Linked DNA regions of Homo sapiens: all the other regions are linked to region 3. The links are contacts of gene promoters, found by promoter capture Hi-C in blood cells and fetal thymus (Javierre and others, 2016). All regions are on one chromosome and are shown on one strand. The core of a region is centred on a gene start or on the middle of the fragment in contact, and the rest is flanking DNA. Distances in the headings are between cores, read along the strand shown.

Region 1 (3,774 bases), core at 308-2,807, 5.3 Mb before region 3:
ACTGTTCTTTTCTGCAATCTATTCTTCTACTTAACAAAGATTAGAGGACTTTACAGTTGCCTTTTTTTTTTTTTTCCAGACGGAGTCTCACTCTGTCGCCAGGTTGGATTGCAGTGGCACGATCCCGGTTCACTGCAACCTCCGCCTCCCAGGTTCAAGCGAGTCTCCTGTCTCAGCCTCCCAAGTAGCTGGGGCTACAGGCGCGCGCCACCAGGCCGAGCTAATTTTTTGTATTTTTAGTAGAGACGGGGTTTCACCGTGTTGGCCAGGATGGTCTCAATCTCTTGACCTCGTGATCCACCCGCCTCGGCCTCCCAAAGTTCTGGGATTATAGGCGTGAGCCACTGTGCCTAGCCTGCCATTACGTTTGTAATCCCAGCACTTTGGGAGGCCGAGGCAGGCGGATCACGAGGTCAGGAGTTCGAGACCAGCCTGGCCAACATAGTGAAACCCCGTCTCTACTAAAAATACAAAAATTAGCCGGGCGTGGTGGCGCGTGCCTGTAGTCCCAGCTACTCGGGAGGCTGAGGCAGGAGAATCGCTTGAACCCGGGAGGTGGAGGCTGCAGCGAGCCGAGATGGCCCTACTGAACACCAGCCCAGGCGACAGTGTGAGATTCCTCTCAAAAGAAAAAAAAATAATAATCTTTCTGCCAGAGGTGAGAGAGCAGAAAAAAAATTAATCAGATTCTCAAATTCCTGTACGTCTCTTAGTAGAGACGGGTTTCTCCTTGTTGGTCAGGCTGATCTTGAACTCCCAATCTCAGGTGATCCGCCCGCCTCGGCCTTCCAAAGTGCTGGGATTACAGGCGTGAGCCACCGCGCCCGGCCACAAGACGTTTTATTGCAACATAAAAACAGGATGTAACGAGTCTTCCAATCACCAATGTAATTAGAGTTGGTTACCAAGTTTCCCCACGCGTCTTCCACCATGAGGGAGAAACGGACTGCAGACAAACCTAGCACCCCTTGAGCAGTTTAATTCGTACTATAAATATGTAGGCACCGTAAGGACGCGATTCTCCAGTTTGCCAGGCCTTTTTCTATCCTTTTGGGGGCACAAGGCGACCTTGCCTCCTGATTCAAAAACTTCGTAAACGTCAATCCTTCTACCCTTTTCTGGTCAGCCCACGAAAGCAGCAGCATGGCACAACTCCCAGCCTAGAGTTCGGGCACTGCCTGTCGTCAGCATAACGAAGAAACCTACACCCACGAAGACTTCAGACCCCACGTGATTACATCACTCAACCACCAGCGCTGGCCTGGAGGAACCCGCTGTCACGTGACCGCTCGTGCCCAATGACCGAGGCCCACGCTTTCCAGACCGCCACAGTCGCTGTCACAGGGCCTGAGTTTGGGCGGCGCCCCGCCCCGGCCGCACGGTGCGCCGGCGTTAATCCTCCCCGAAGGTTCCGGCAGCCAAGATTGCAGGTTCCCACCAAGCATTGTTTCCGAACTGGGCCACGAGAGCGTGTCCCTGATTGGCTTGCTCTGGAGGCTGGGAAGGGACCTGTTAGAGACTGGGACCACTTCCTGAAGCGCGAGGCAGGAAGTTATATGCTTTTTCTGGAGTCCTGTAGAGAAAGTGCTCTCTGCCGCATTGATAGCAGCGAGAGCTGGAGGTGTTGGGTCGGGAGACCAGCCGTTCGATCCCGCCGCAGGTAGGAGCTGGTTTCCATCCTGGCACCACGGCACACACCTCCAGCCTCGAGCCCGGCGCTGCTGCCCGGGGGTCTCCTTCAGGCTCTTTGACGCCGTTCCAGGGGGCACCTATCCAGGCATCCTCTGGGCCTCTAGCCAGAGGACTGGCTCCCGGCTTCAGCACTCCGGGCTGCAGTAAGAAGTGCCCTTATCGCTCTGAGCCCTGCCACCATCCCGTGAACCACCGAAACCCTGGTCCAGCGCGACAGCCTTGGACCTGGGACTGGACGGATCCAAAACGCTCAGCCTCGGCCCCCCACAGACGGGGCTCTGCATCGTCTCTGATATGTCACCCACCATCTCCCACAAGGACAGCAGCCGGCAACGGCGGCCAGGGAATTTCAGTCACTCTCTGGATATGAAGAGCGGTCCCCTGCCGCCAGGCGGTTGGGATGACAGTCATTTGGACTCAGCGGGCCGGGAAGGGGACAGAGAAGCTCTTCTGGGGGATACCGGCACTGGCGACTTCTTAAAAGCCCCACAGAGCTTCCGGGCCGAACTAAGCAGCATTTTGCTACTACTCTTTCTTTACGTGCTTCAGGGTATTCCCCTGGGCTTGGCGGGAAGCATCCCACTCATTTTGCAAAGCAAAAATGTTAGCTATACAGACCAAGCTTTCTTCAGTTTTGTCTTTTGGCCCTTCAGTCTCAAATTACTCTGGGCCCCGTTGGTTGATGCGGTCTACGTTAAGAACTTCGGTCGTCGCAAATCTTGGCTTGTCCCGACACAGTATATACTAGGACTCTTCATGATCTATTTATCCACTCAGGTGGACCGTTTGCTTGGGAATACCGATGACAGAACACCCGACGTGATTGCTCTCACTGTGGCGTTCTTTTTGTTTGAATTCTTGGCCGCCACTCAGGACATTGCCGTCGATGGTTGGGCGTTAACTATGTTATCCAGGGAAAATGTGGGTTATGCTTCTACTTGCAATTCGGTGGGCCAAACAGCGGGTTACTTTTTGGGCAATGTTTTGTTTTTGGCCCTTGAATCTGCCGACTTTTGTAACAAATATTTGCGGTTTCAGCCTCAACCCAGAGGAATCGTTACTCTTTCAGGTAGTGTATTTAAGCTATTATGGTGTTAGGTTTATTTATCCTTTTGAAAGAGTGTGTGACGTTGGAGGGAAGCTCATTAATTTACTGGAAATCATTGTATGGGAGATAACTCAAGGTAAGTTTTCTGTTTCGTCCAAATGAGCTTCTTTGAAATATTAAAGCCAAAATGAATGATATTAGAGCAATCAAATGATCACTATGCGGTTAACAGGGAGAGGCAACCCATCAAATAACACAACCGAGTCCAGGGATTCATGCCACTTGCTTAATACACAAATGCACACTTTTAAAAAGTGTGGCTCATATGGTTCACATTTTTCCTTTTGTCTTGTTGGTTTTAGGTTTCTAGCTCTATACTTTCTAATCCATTTCTACCCCTACCGTTGTACCCAGAATCCAGCCTTCTAGTGAATGGAACAGGGTTTATTCGTTCAAACATTATTGAACCAGCTAAGGGACGGGATTCTAAGGCCTCTAATGAATAAGGCAGAGTTCTGCACTCAAGAAATAAGGAAGATGAACATTTTAGGAGAGTTCAGAGTTGCCAGTTAGTAACTGCCTTTGGGAGTCAGGCTTCACATTGCAGATAACATTTGACTTTGTTCTTGAATAAGATTCCACGAGGCCAGGAAATGGCACACCAGAATGCACAACACAAAGTAAAAGTGCACTGAGGCAGGAAAGTACAAAAAAGTACAGGACATTGCCTAAATTGTGGAACTGGGTTTGGGAAATCGTGCTGAGAAAGGCTGTGACTAAATTAGTAAGATTTTCTTTAATTACTATGGGAAAAGAGTTTAAAGTTTGTCCTGTAAGTAATGGAGGGTAAGTTCTAAAAAATTTCCCTGTTTCTCTGCATGAGTAAAACACATGTAAGTTTTTCTCTTTTTTCTTTTTTCTTCTTTTTTTTAATTGAGATAGTTGGGGGTCGGGGGGGCTGTCTCACTATGTTGGCCAGGCTGGTCTTGAACTCCTGGCCTCAGGTGATTCTCCCCCTCCTTGGCCTCCCAAAG
Region 2 (3,734 bases), core at 292-2,791, 6.6 Mb before region 3:
CTACGCCACGGCCGCGCAAGGGTAAAACGCTAGCGGGTAAGTTAGATCCGGCCGCCGGATGCAGTGGCTGGCGGAGGGATCCTCTCTACTGCAACCACGCGAAGCCGATTGCGCCGCGCATGCGCCGGGAGACTCGGATTTGCCAGTTTTCCGGCTTTTGAGCCGCTCTTCCGGCGAGTCCCTGGGCTTCCGAGAAATGACGAAGTGGGCGGGGTCCTCCTTCTCGACCGTTGTGAAATCAATTCGCCTCCCCCGGAACCTGCTGCCGGGTCTTGCACATGTTCCGTGGCAGAGCTGACCGCGATCGTTCCTGGCTTGGATGCCTTGAGGCTTGGCGCCGGCGGCCGGACCTGCAGGGGTTGCGGGGGACTCAGGCCACTTGTCTGACGGGGCGTAGGCAGCAGACTACCACTGAGCTCCGGGAAAAGGGAAAGGGGAAACTGATCAGCCCCCTCCAGTCACTTACCCCACAGTTAAGCCCTCCAGAAAACCCACCTCCCTGCTTGACCTCTGATGGCCGTTTCAGGGCTTGTGACGATTATGATATCGCCAGAGTCCTTCCGTGAAAATTGGAAATGCCATAATAATACTTAAATTCACTTACCCCAAAACAAGCAGTGTGTTACGAGGTTTATCCAGAAGATGAAGAGCAGAGCAAAAAGCAAATGATAGCCGTGGCTTTCACGTTTAAAAACAGTTCTTAGGCAGCGCCGGGTCGCGGTCCTGTAGTCCTAGCTACATCGGAGGGTGAGGCGGGAGGACTGCTGAAGCCCGGGAGTTCGAGGCCAGCCTGGGCAACATAGTGAGACCTTGTCTCTAAAAAGAAATAAGAAATGTTCCTGAAAGTTTTCATGACAGGGTAGAGTCCAAGCTTTTCCAGCATATGACTTATCTACTGCTACCTTTCTCCCTGAACTCCGTCAGCCCAGGGAAGAATCCAGGTTGGGATTTATGTTTACAGATCCAAAACTAAGCACAAGAGATCTTTAAATCCCATGACAAAACAGTGCCTGAAAGAGCTGACCACCAGATCCAGCTTTTGAGTTTGAAGCTGAGATCGTCCTGCATACAGCAGGATTGAGTGAATGAATATAAATAAATTATAGGTATAAAAACATGGTCCACAGCCACACCACCCTGAACTTGCCCTGTCTTCTCTGATCTTGGAAGCTAAGCAGGGTCTGACCTGCTTAGCTAGTCCTTGAATGCGAGACCACCTTGAAACACTGGGTGCCGCAGGCTTTTGAAAAATAAAATATATATATACGTTTGATCATTCCCTAATTTTGTAATTCTGAAAATTAAGTATACACTAGATATTTTTATATCTAAAGGCAAGACAGTAATCCAGCCAACATTTTACACTGATCCCTCTTTCCCACCTTAAGAAATAATTCAGGTGGGGTTTTTTTTTGTGTTTTTTGTATTTTTTTGAGGCAGCGTTTTGCTCTTGTCACCCAGGCTGGAGTGCAATGGGCGCGATCTTGGCTCACTGCAACCTGCGCCTTCTGGGTTCAAGTGAGTCTCCTGCCTCAGCCTCCTGAAGTAGCTGGGATTAGAGGCATGCGGCACCACACCTGGCTAACACCGCAAACGGGGTTTCACCATGTTGGTCACGCTGGTCTCCAACTCCTGACCTCAGGTGATCCAGCCACCTCGGCCTCCCAAAGCGCTGGGATTACAGGCGTGAGCCACCGCGTCTGGCCAGTTCAGGTGTTTTTTAAGAGATGAGGTCTCCTTATGTTGCCCAGGCTGGACTTGAACTCCTGGGATCAAGTTATCCTCTCGCCTTAGTCTCCTGAGTACCTGGTACTACAGCTGTGCCCAATCACACCTGCCTTAACTGTGTTGTTTTTGAGAGTCCAGTGATAGTATATGAAAATGCTGTGAAAACTATAAAAATCAGGTATCAAATATAAGTCGACTCTCAAGACTAGGATGTAGATACCTCTGAACGTTTCCTGATTGCTGAAAATAAAAGTCTTGTTCTGTGCTATTTTTAAGATGGGGCTGATAAGCAATATCCAGTTATGTGCTGTATGCATGTGCCTGCGTGTGTATGTGCATGTGTGTGTGACAGTGACACTATAAAGAAACAGTTCCCTGAGGCAAAACTAGACTAGGTCTCCAGTGACTTCAATGTTACAATGCACATAGTTTAAATCGAAATTCCCTCTAAAGCACCTTGTGGTAGATCTGGAGAAAGCTTGTTCTTTTAGTACTAAGGTATCATTGTTTTCACTGTGGTAACAAATGCTATACTTGTTCCAGAGAACCAACATTACAGTAGAGCCCTTGTGTGTGGTCATGGAAAGAACACTGGACTGGGCATCAGAAAAACCACCGTTCTAATTTCACTCTGCTACTGGATCTAAAATCTTGGTCGAGTCCTTTCACATCTCTGAACTTCCATTTCTTCACATGTAATGGTCTTTGTTCCTCTCCTGTATGCTCCTGTAGCATTCTACCCTTTCATGTAGCATTCCATGTACTCTATTTGTTCATCACTTTGGTCTTAGTGCCTAGCATAACATAGTTTAGTGAATACTCAGTAGAGATTTGTTAGAGTCATTCTAACTGTACAAAATTTCATTATGGGCCATTTTTCTTTGATACTGATATTTGTTAGAATGCTATTTACTGTGGAAGAATAATCCCATGGATTACTTATTAATTGCAAGGGTGTTAAGGTACTTTTACAATGGAGAAATCTGATGGATACCACCTTAACAAATGATAAAAAGTAGCCAATAATTGAACAAAAAATTGGGCATCGTGTGCCCCTAGATGTGAAGCATGGAGATACAACATTACCTATGGAGTATTCCTTGAAAAATCTTTAACCTGAATCTAATCATGAGGAAATAATCAGACACATCCAAATTTAGGAACATGCTTCAAAGTAGTTGGCCTGGAATTGTGAAAAATATCACAAGACACACACACACACACACACACACACACACACACACACACAAACTGCTATAGAATTTAAACAGACATGACAGCTATACGCAGGGAACTTGATGTGGTGCTGGTTTACTTTTGTTTTATAGTGTTCAAAATAGTTAATGAATGTGTTCCTGGGAGAAAACTAATTAAAATGTGTAGGGAGCTTCGGAATAGCTGATTCTCATTATTTATAAAAGTTTCCTCTTGAAATTCTATTTCTGTTGAATGTTTATTATGAAATAGAAAACATTACTAAAAGGGGTCAGCCACTTCATTGCTCAAAATAAAATTACAACTTAATCCTTAAGAGGAAAATGGAATCATTTTAAAAATGTCATTTCCAGGGACTTGCTAGGTCCTTTCTATTTTTAATTGTACAGGGCTATCTCCAGTCCCTGAAGTCACTGCTCCAGCCCCAGCTACTTCTGTAGCCCTCCTTCTCCTGTTTTCAAGTTTTGTAATTATTAGAGACAAACAATAAAAAGAAATGAACTACTAGAAAAGCTTGAAAAACTAAATGTTCTTAATATTACAGTTTCTGATTTATAGCTCTTGATTTTCTTGTTGAGGTAAACACTGCTTTAAACCCTCCAGAGTTTCTGAGAGTCCCCTAAAATGAGGGTCTGTTCCTCAGCCCTTCACATGCCTGACATGCCTGCCCTCGCCCACCTCTTCAGCCACATTAGTCCCTAGTATACACACGTATGCACCACATTCTAGCACACCACAGTATTTCTTGTGTCAGTCTTTCCATTAAGATGGGTTTAAGATTAAATAAGTAA
Region 3 (3,391 bases), core at 177-2,676:
TTTTAATCAGGAGAAATTGCAATGTTTTAGTTTTCACTCAAAAAAATAAAGTCTCACCATCTTATTTTCTAACTCAAACATCACCTTAAGCCGATTTTTAAAAATTATTTTAAAGGTTTGCTTGGTCTTCAGTGAGTAAGTAAAAAGCTAGTTGGAGAAGTAGAAAATCAAAACTTTAATATACTAATACATGAAGTTCTTAAAAGAAGGTTTTAAATGAATGATGTCCAACACCAACATTCCAATGTATCCGGACTCTGATGATTTACTAATCTGGCTATTCTGGGATGGTCGGTTTATCCTGAGAAAATGTCATCTTTGGAGGTGTAAGATTCTCATTTCTATAATTTTACAATTTTGGTGTTTTTTCCCCCATCTTCAGAGCCTTTCAATCCCCACCCGCAACCCCACTTACCGTATAAAATGCATCATTGCCCTGCTTCTAACGATTAGGTTAAAAACAAAATCATTTAAAGAACACTGTCGAAAACTGCCGAGATCTGCTGGATACACAAGACAACTGAAAGGTAGAAAGAGATGCCAGAGCAGGCAACTCCTGGGAGGCAGGTGAGGAGGGAATGCGAGCGAACTGTCAATGTTTAGAAGAACAACGTGCTCCTTTTCTGACACTTTGGAAATGGCAAACAGAACCAGCATCCCCAGACCTTCCTTCCACCCCCTCCAGCTGTCAGACGCCCCATTCGCAAACTCAACAGTCCCCCCAGCAAGTTCAGGAGAAAAACGGCGTCTGTCACTCCCGGATCCTCTCCAATGACCCGAATTAACCTTCATCTAGCCAGGCAGCGAAGCCGCCCGGCATTACCCCGGAAAAGAGGGCAGAAAAAGTGAACTGACAAACGGTTGGCGCTCCTCCGCCGACGCGGCGCCTACTCATCCCCATCTCCGCAGGCAGCCGGGGTGGCTATGGCGTGACGCCGCCAACCAGTCCTCCGTACTAACAGGTGTCCCCCAGTCTTCGCCTTTCAGCGTTTAACCTTCTCGCGCCCTCCTTCCCCATTCCCACTGTTCTAGGAGGCAAAAAACAAGTGAGCAGTTATACCTGGAAAAGGAGGGCGGCCTGACCGCGCTAAGGGGCCGCGAGAAGGCTGGCTGTGGAAGGGCGCCGGCACAGTTCTACGAGGCCAGCGAAGATGCGGCCATTTAGGCCGCGAAGCCGGGGCCTCGCGTAGCCAATGGCGCCGAGCAGAGGCGCGGCGGGGTGGCCGGGGCCCAGTGCACATACTCACCAAATCTGGAACTTGAGCAGCGGCCCCGTGGCGTACTGCATCTTTAATCTCTTGCTGGGCACGCCGCCCAGATTGGCCGAGGCCTCGCTCCGGACCATCGCAGACGCCGCCACTAGGAGAAGCAGCAGAAGCCTCATCTTAAATGAGCCAGCCACTTCGGCCGCCCTCAGACAGACTGCAGCCAGCCCAAAGCCCAGGAGCGAGCTGCTCCCCACTGCGCAGGCGCGATCAGCCAAGGTCGGGGGAGGGGAGCAGTAATGCGCCTGCGCGGCCCGGCGCCCGCGCACACTCCTGGAGTGAAGAGCCGACCTGTTTCACTGTCCTGACTCACCACCATCTTGGTAGTGTGCAAGACTCTGGGACGGCATGAGAAAGGCAGAAAGGGAGCAAAGGAGCTGGTGGGGTGTCACAGGGCCTATGTATGAGGCAGATGTGAGTTCTGCATCCAGTTTTGCAATTTATCCATTTACCTGCCTGAGACTTGGAAACACCTACTTTATAGTCCTGATTCAAGTGTTGGCGGATGGAAGGGAGGAGACTCCTGACCCTCAGAATGGTAATGCTGAAATTTTTTGGGTGCGCTGTTATGGCCTTTTCTTTGATCTTACAATATTGCTTTCTCCTGAAAGAATATTAAACATAAGTTTTAGGAAACCTTTGGACAATTCCAAACATATCCAAAAATAGAATAACTACCTTAGCAAGCTTTAACAGTTACTATACATTTTGACAATCTTGATTTGTCTATATCTCTAAACACTTCTTCCCTTCCTAGGCATATTTGGAAGCAAATCTCAGACATCATATCATTTCATCTGTATATATATATTTTTAAACACGGTCTCACTGTCACCCAGGCTGGAGTTCAGTGGCGTGATCATAGCTTACTGCAGCCTCACACCCCTGGGCTCAAGCAGTCCTGCCTCAGCTTCCCAAGTGGTTAGGAATACAGGCACAGGCAACTATGCCTGGCTTACAATTATTTAAGCACATATTTCTAAAAAAGAATTATTATTAAAAAGAAAAAAAATTGACCACAGTGTTTCACATGTCCGTGTGAAGAGACTACCAAACAGGCTTTGTGTGAGCAACACAGCTGTTTATTTCACCTGGGTGCAAGCGGGCCGAGTCCGAAAAGGGAGTCAGCAAAGGGTGGTGGGATTATCATTGGTTCTTATAGGTTTTGGGATAGGCGGTGGAGTTAAGAGCAATATTTTGGGGGCAGGGGTTGGATCTCACAAAGTACATTCTCAAGGGTGGGGAGAATTACAAAGAACCTTCTTAAGGGTGGGGGAGATTACTGATCAACAAAGTACATTGATCAGTTAGGGTGGGGCAGAAACAAATCACAATGGTGGAATGTTATCAGTTAAGGCTATTTTCACTTCTGTGGATCTTCAGTTGCTTCAGGCCATCTGGATGTATATGTGCAGGTCACTGGGGATATGATGGCTTAGCTTAGGCTCAGAGGCCTGACATTCCTGTCTTCTTATATTAATAAGAAAAATAAAACAAAATAGTGGTAAAGTGTTGGGGCAGCGAAAATTTTTGGGGGTGGTATGGAGAGATAATAGGCGATGTTTCTCAGGGCTGCTTCGAGCGAGATTAGGGGCGGCGTGGGAACCCACAGTGGGAGAGATTCAACTGAAGAAAGATTTGGGGGTAAGGGGTGATATTGTGGGGTTGTTAGAAGGAGCATTTGTCGTATAGAATTATTGGAGATGGCCTGGATGCAGTTTTGTATGAATTGAGAAACTAAATGAAAGACACAAGGTCCGAATAAAAGAAGGAGAAAAATAGGTATTAAAGGACTAAGAATTGGGAGTACCCAGGACATCCAATTAGAGAGTGTCCAAGGGGGTTCAACGTTGTTGTCTGCTTGGTTGGAGAGTTTTTGGGCTCTATCTCTATCCTTAAGTTTTTTTATGTTGTCATATACCAGGCCAGATTGATTTAGGTAAAAACAACACTCTTCATTTAAAAATATACAAAGTCCTCCTTTTTCAGCAGTGAGTAAGTCGAGGCTTCAGTGATTTTCAAGGAAAGAGAGGAGGTGGGAAGGCCAAACTGAGGAATTATGTCTGACAGAAGGGAAGAAATGACCGCGGTGGCCTTCTTAGACCCTGTGGGAAAGGCCTCTACCC

What was found. The method cuts DNA at HindIII sites, captures the fragments that hold promoters and counts their contacts. A CHiCAGO score of 5 or more calls a contact.
Region 1: a contact is called between the fragment with the promoter of SLC33A1 here and the fragment with the promoter of SELENOT in region 3, in 4 of 17 cell types (non-activated CD4 T cells, naive CD8 T cells, total CD4 T cells and 1 more). The highest score is 11.1, in non-activated CD4 T cells.
Region 2: a fragment that was not itself captured here is called in contact with the fragment with the promoter of SELENOT in region 3 in 1 of 17 cell types (naive CD8 T cells); the score reaches 5.8 in naive CD8 T cells.

The regions. Positions count from the first base shown.
Region 1 is chr3:155,852,210-155,855,983 of GRCh38, reverse strand. It overlaps SLC33A1 (solute carrier family 33 member 1), which reads left to right and starts at 1,557. Exons shown (of 6, transcript NM_004733.4): 1 at 1,557-2,761. The coding sequence starts at 1,987. It overlaps LOC105374174 (a long non-coding RNA gene), which reads right to left and starts at 1,231. Exons shown (of 3, transcript XR_924607.4): 1 at 906-1,231. RefSeq lists enhancers at 970-1,529, 1,900-1,969. The HindIII fragment of the contact is 4,607 bases long and covers 1-2,316 here.
Region 2 is chr3:157,171,426-157,175,159 of GRCh38, reverse strand. LOC101928236 (a long non-coding RNA gene) reads right to left here and starts at 1,460. Exons shown (of 10, transcript XR_007096141.1): 1 at 605-1,460; 2 at 1-411. It also overlaps the pseudogene RNA5SP146. RefSeq lists enhancers at 1-325, 1-811. The HindIII fragment of the contact is 1,335 bases long and covers 874-2,208 here.
Region 3 is chr3:150,601,356-150,604,746 of GRCh38, reverse strand. SELENOT (selenoprotein T) reads right to left here and starts at 1,426. Exons shown (of 6, transcript NM_016275.5): 1 at 1,248-1,426. The coding sequence starts at 1,384. It overlaps LOC124900547 (a long non-coding RNA gene), which reads left to right and starts at 1,564. Exons shown (of 2, transcript XR_007096128.1): 1 at 1,564-1,803. RefSeq lists enhancers at 968-1,267, 542-1,315, 1,288-1,437, 1,558-1,637. The HindIII fragment of the contact is 3,294 bases long and covers 1-1,954 here.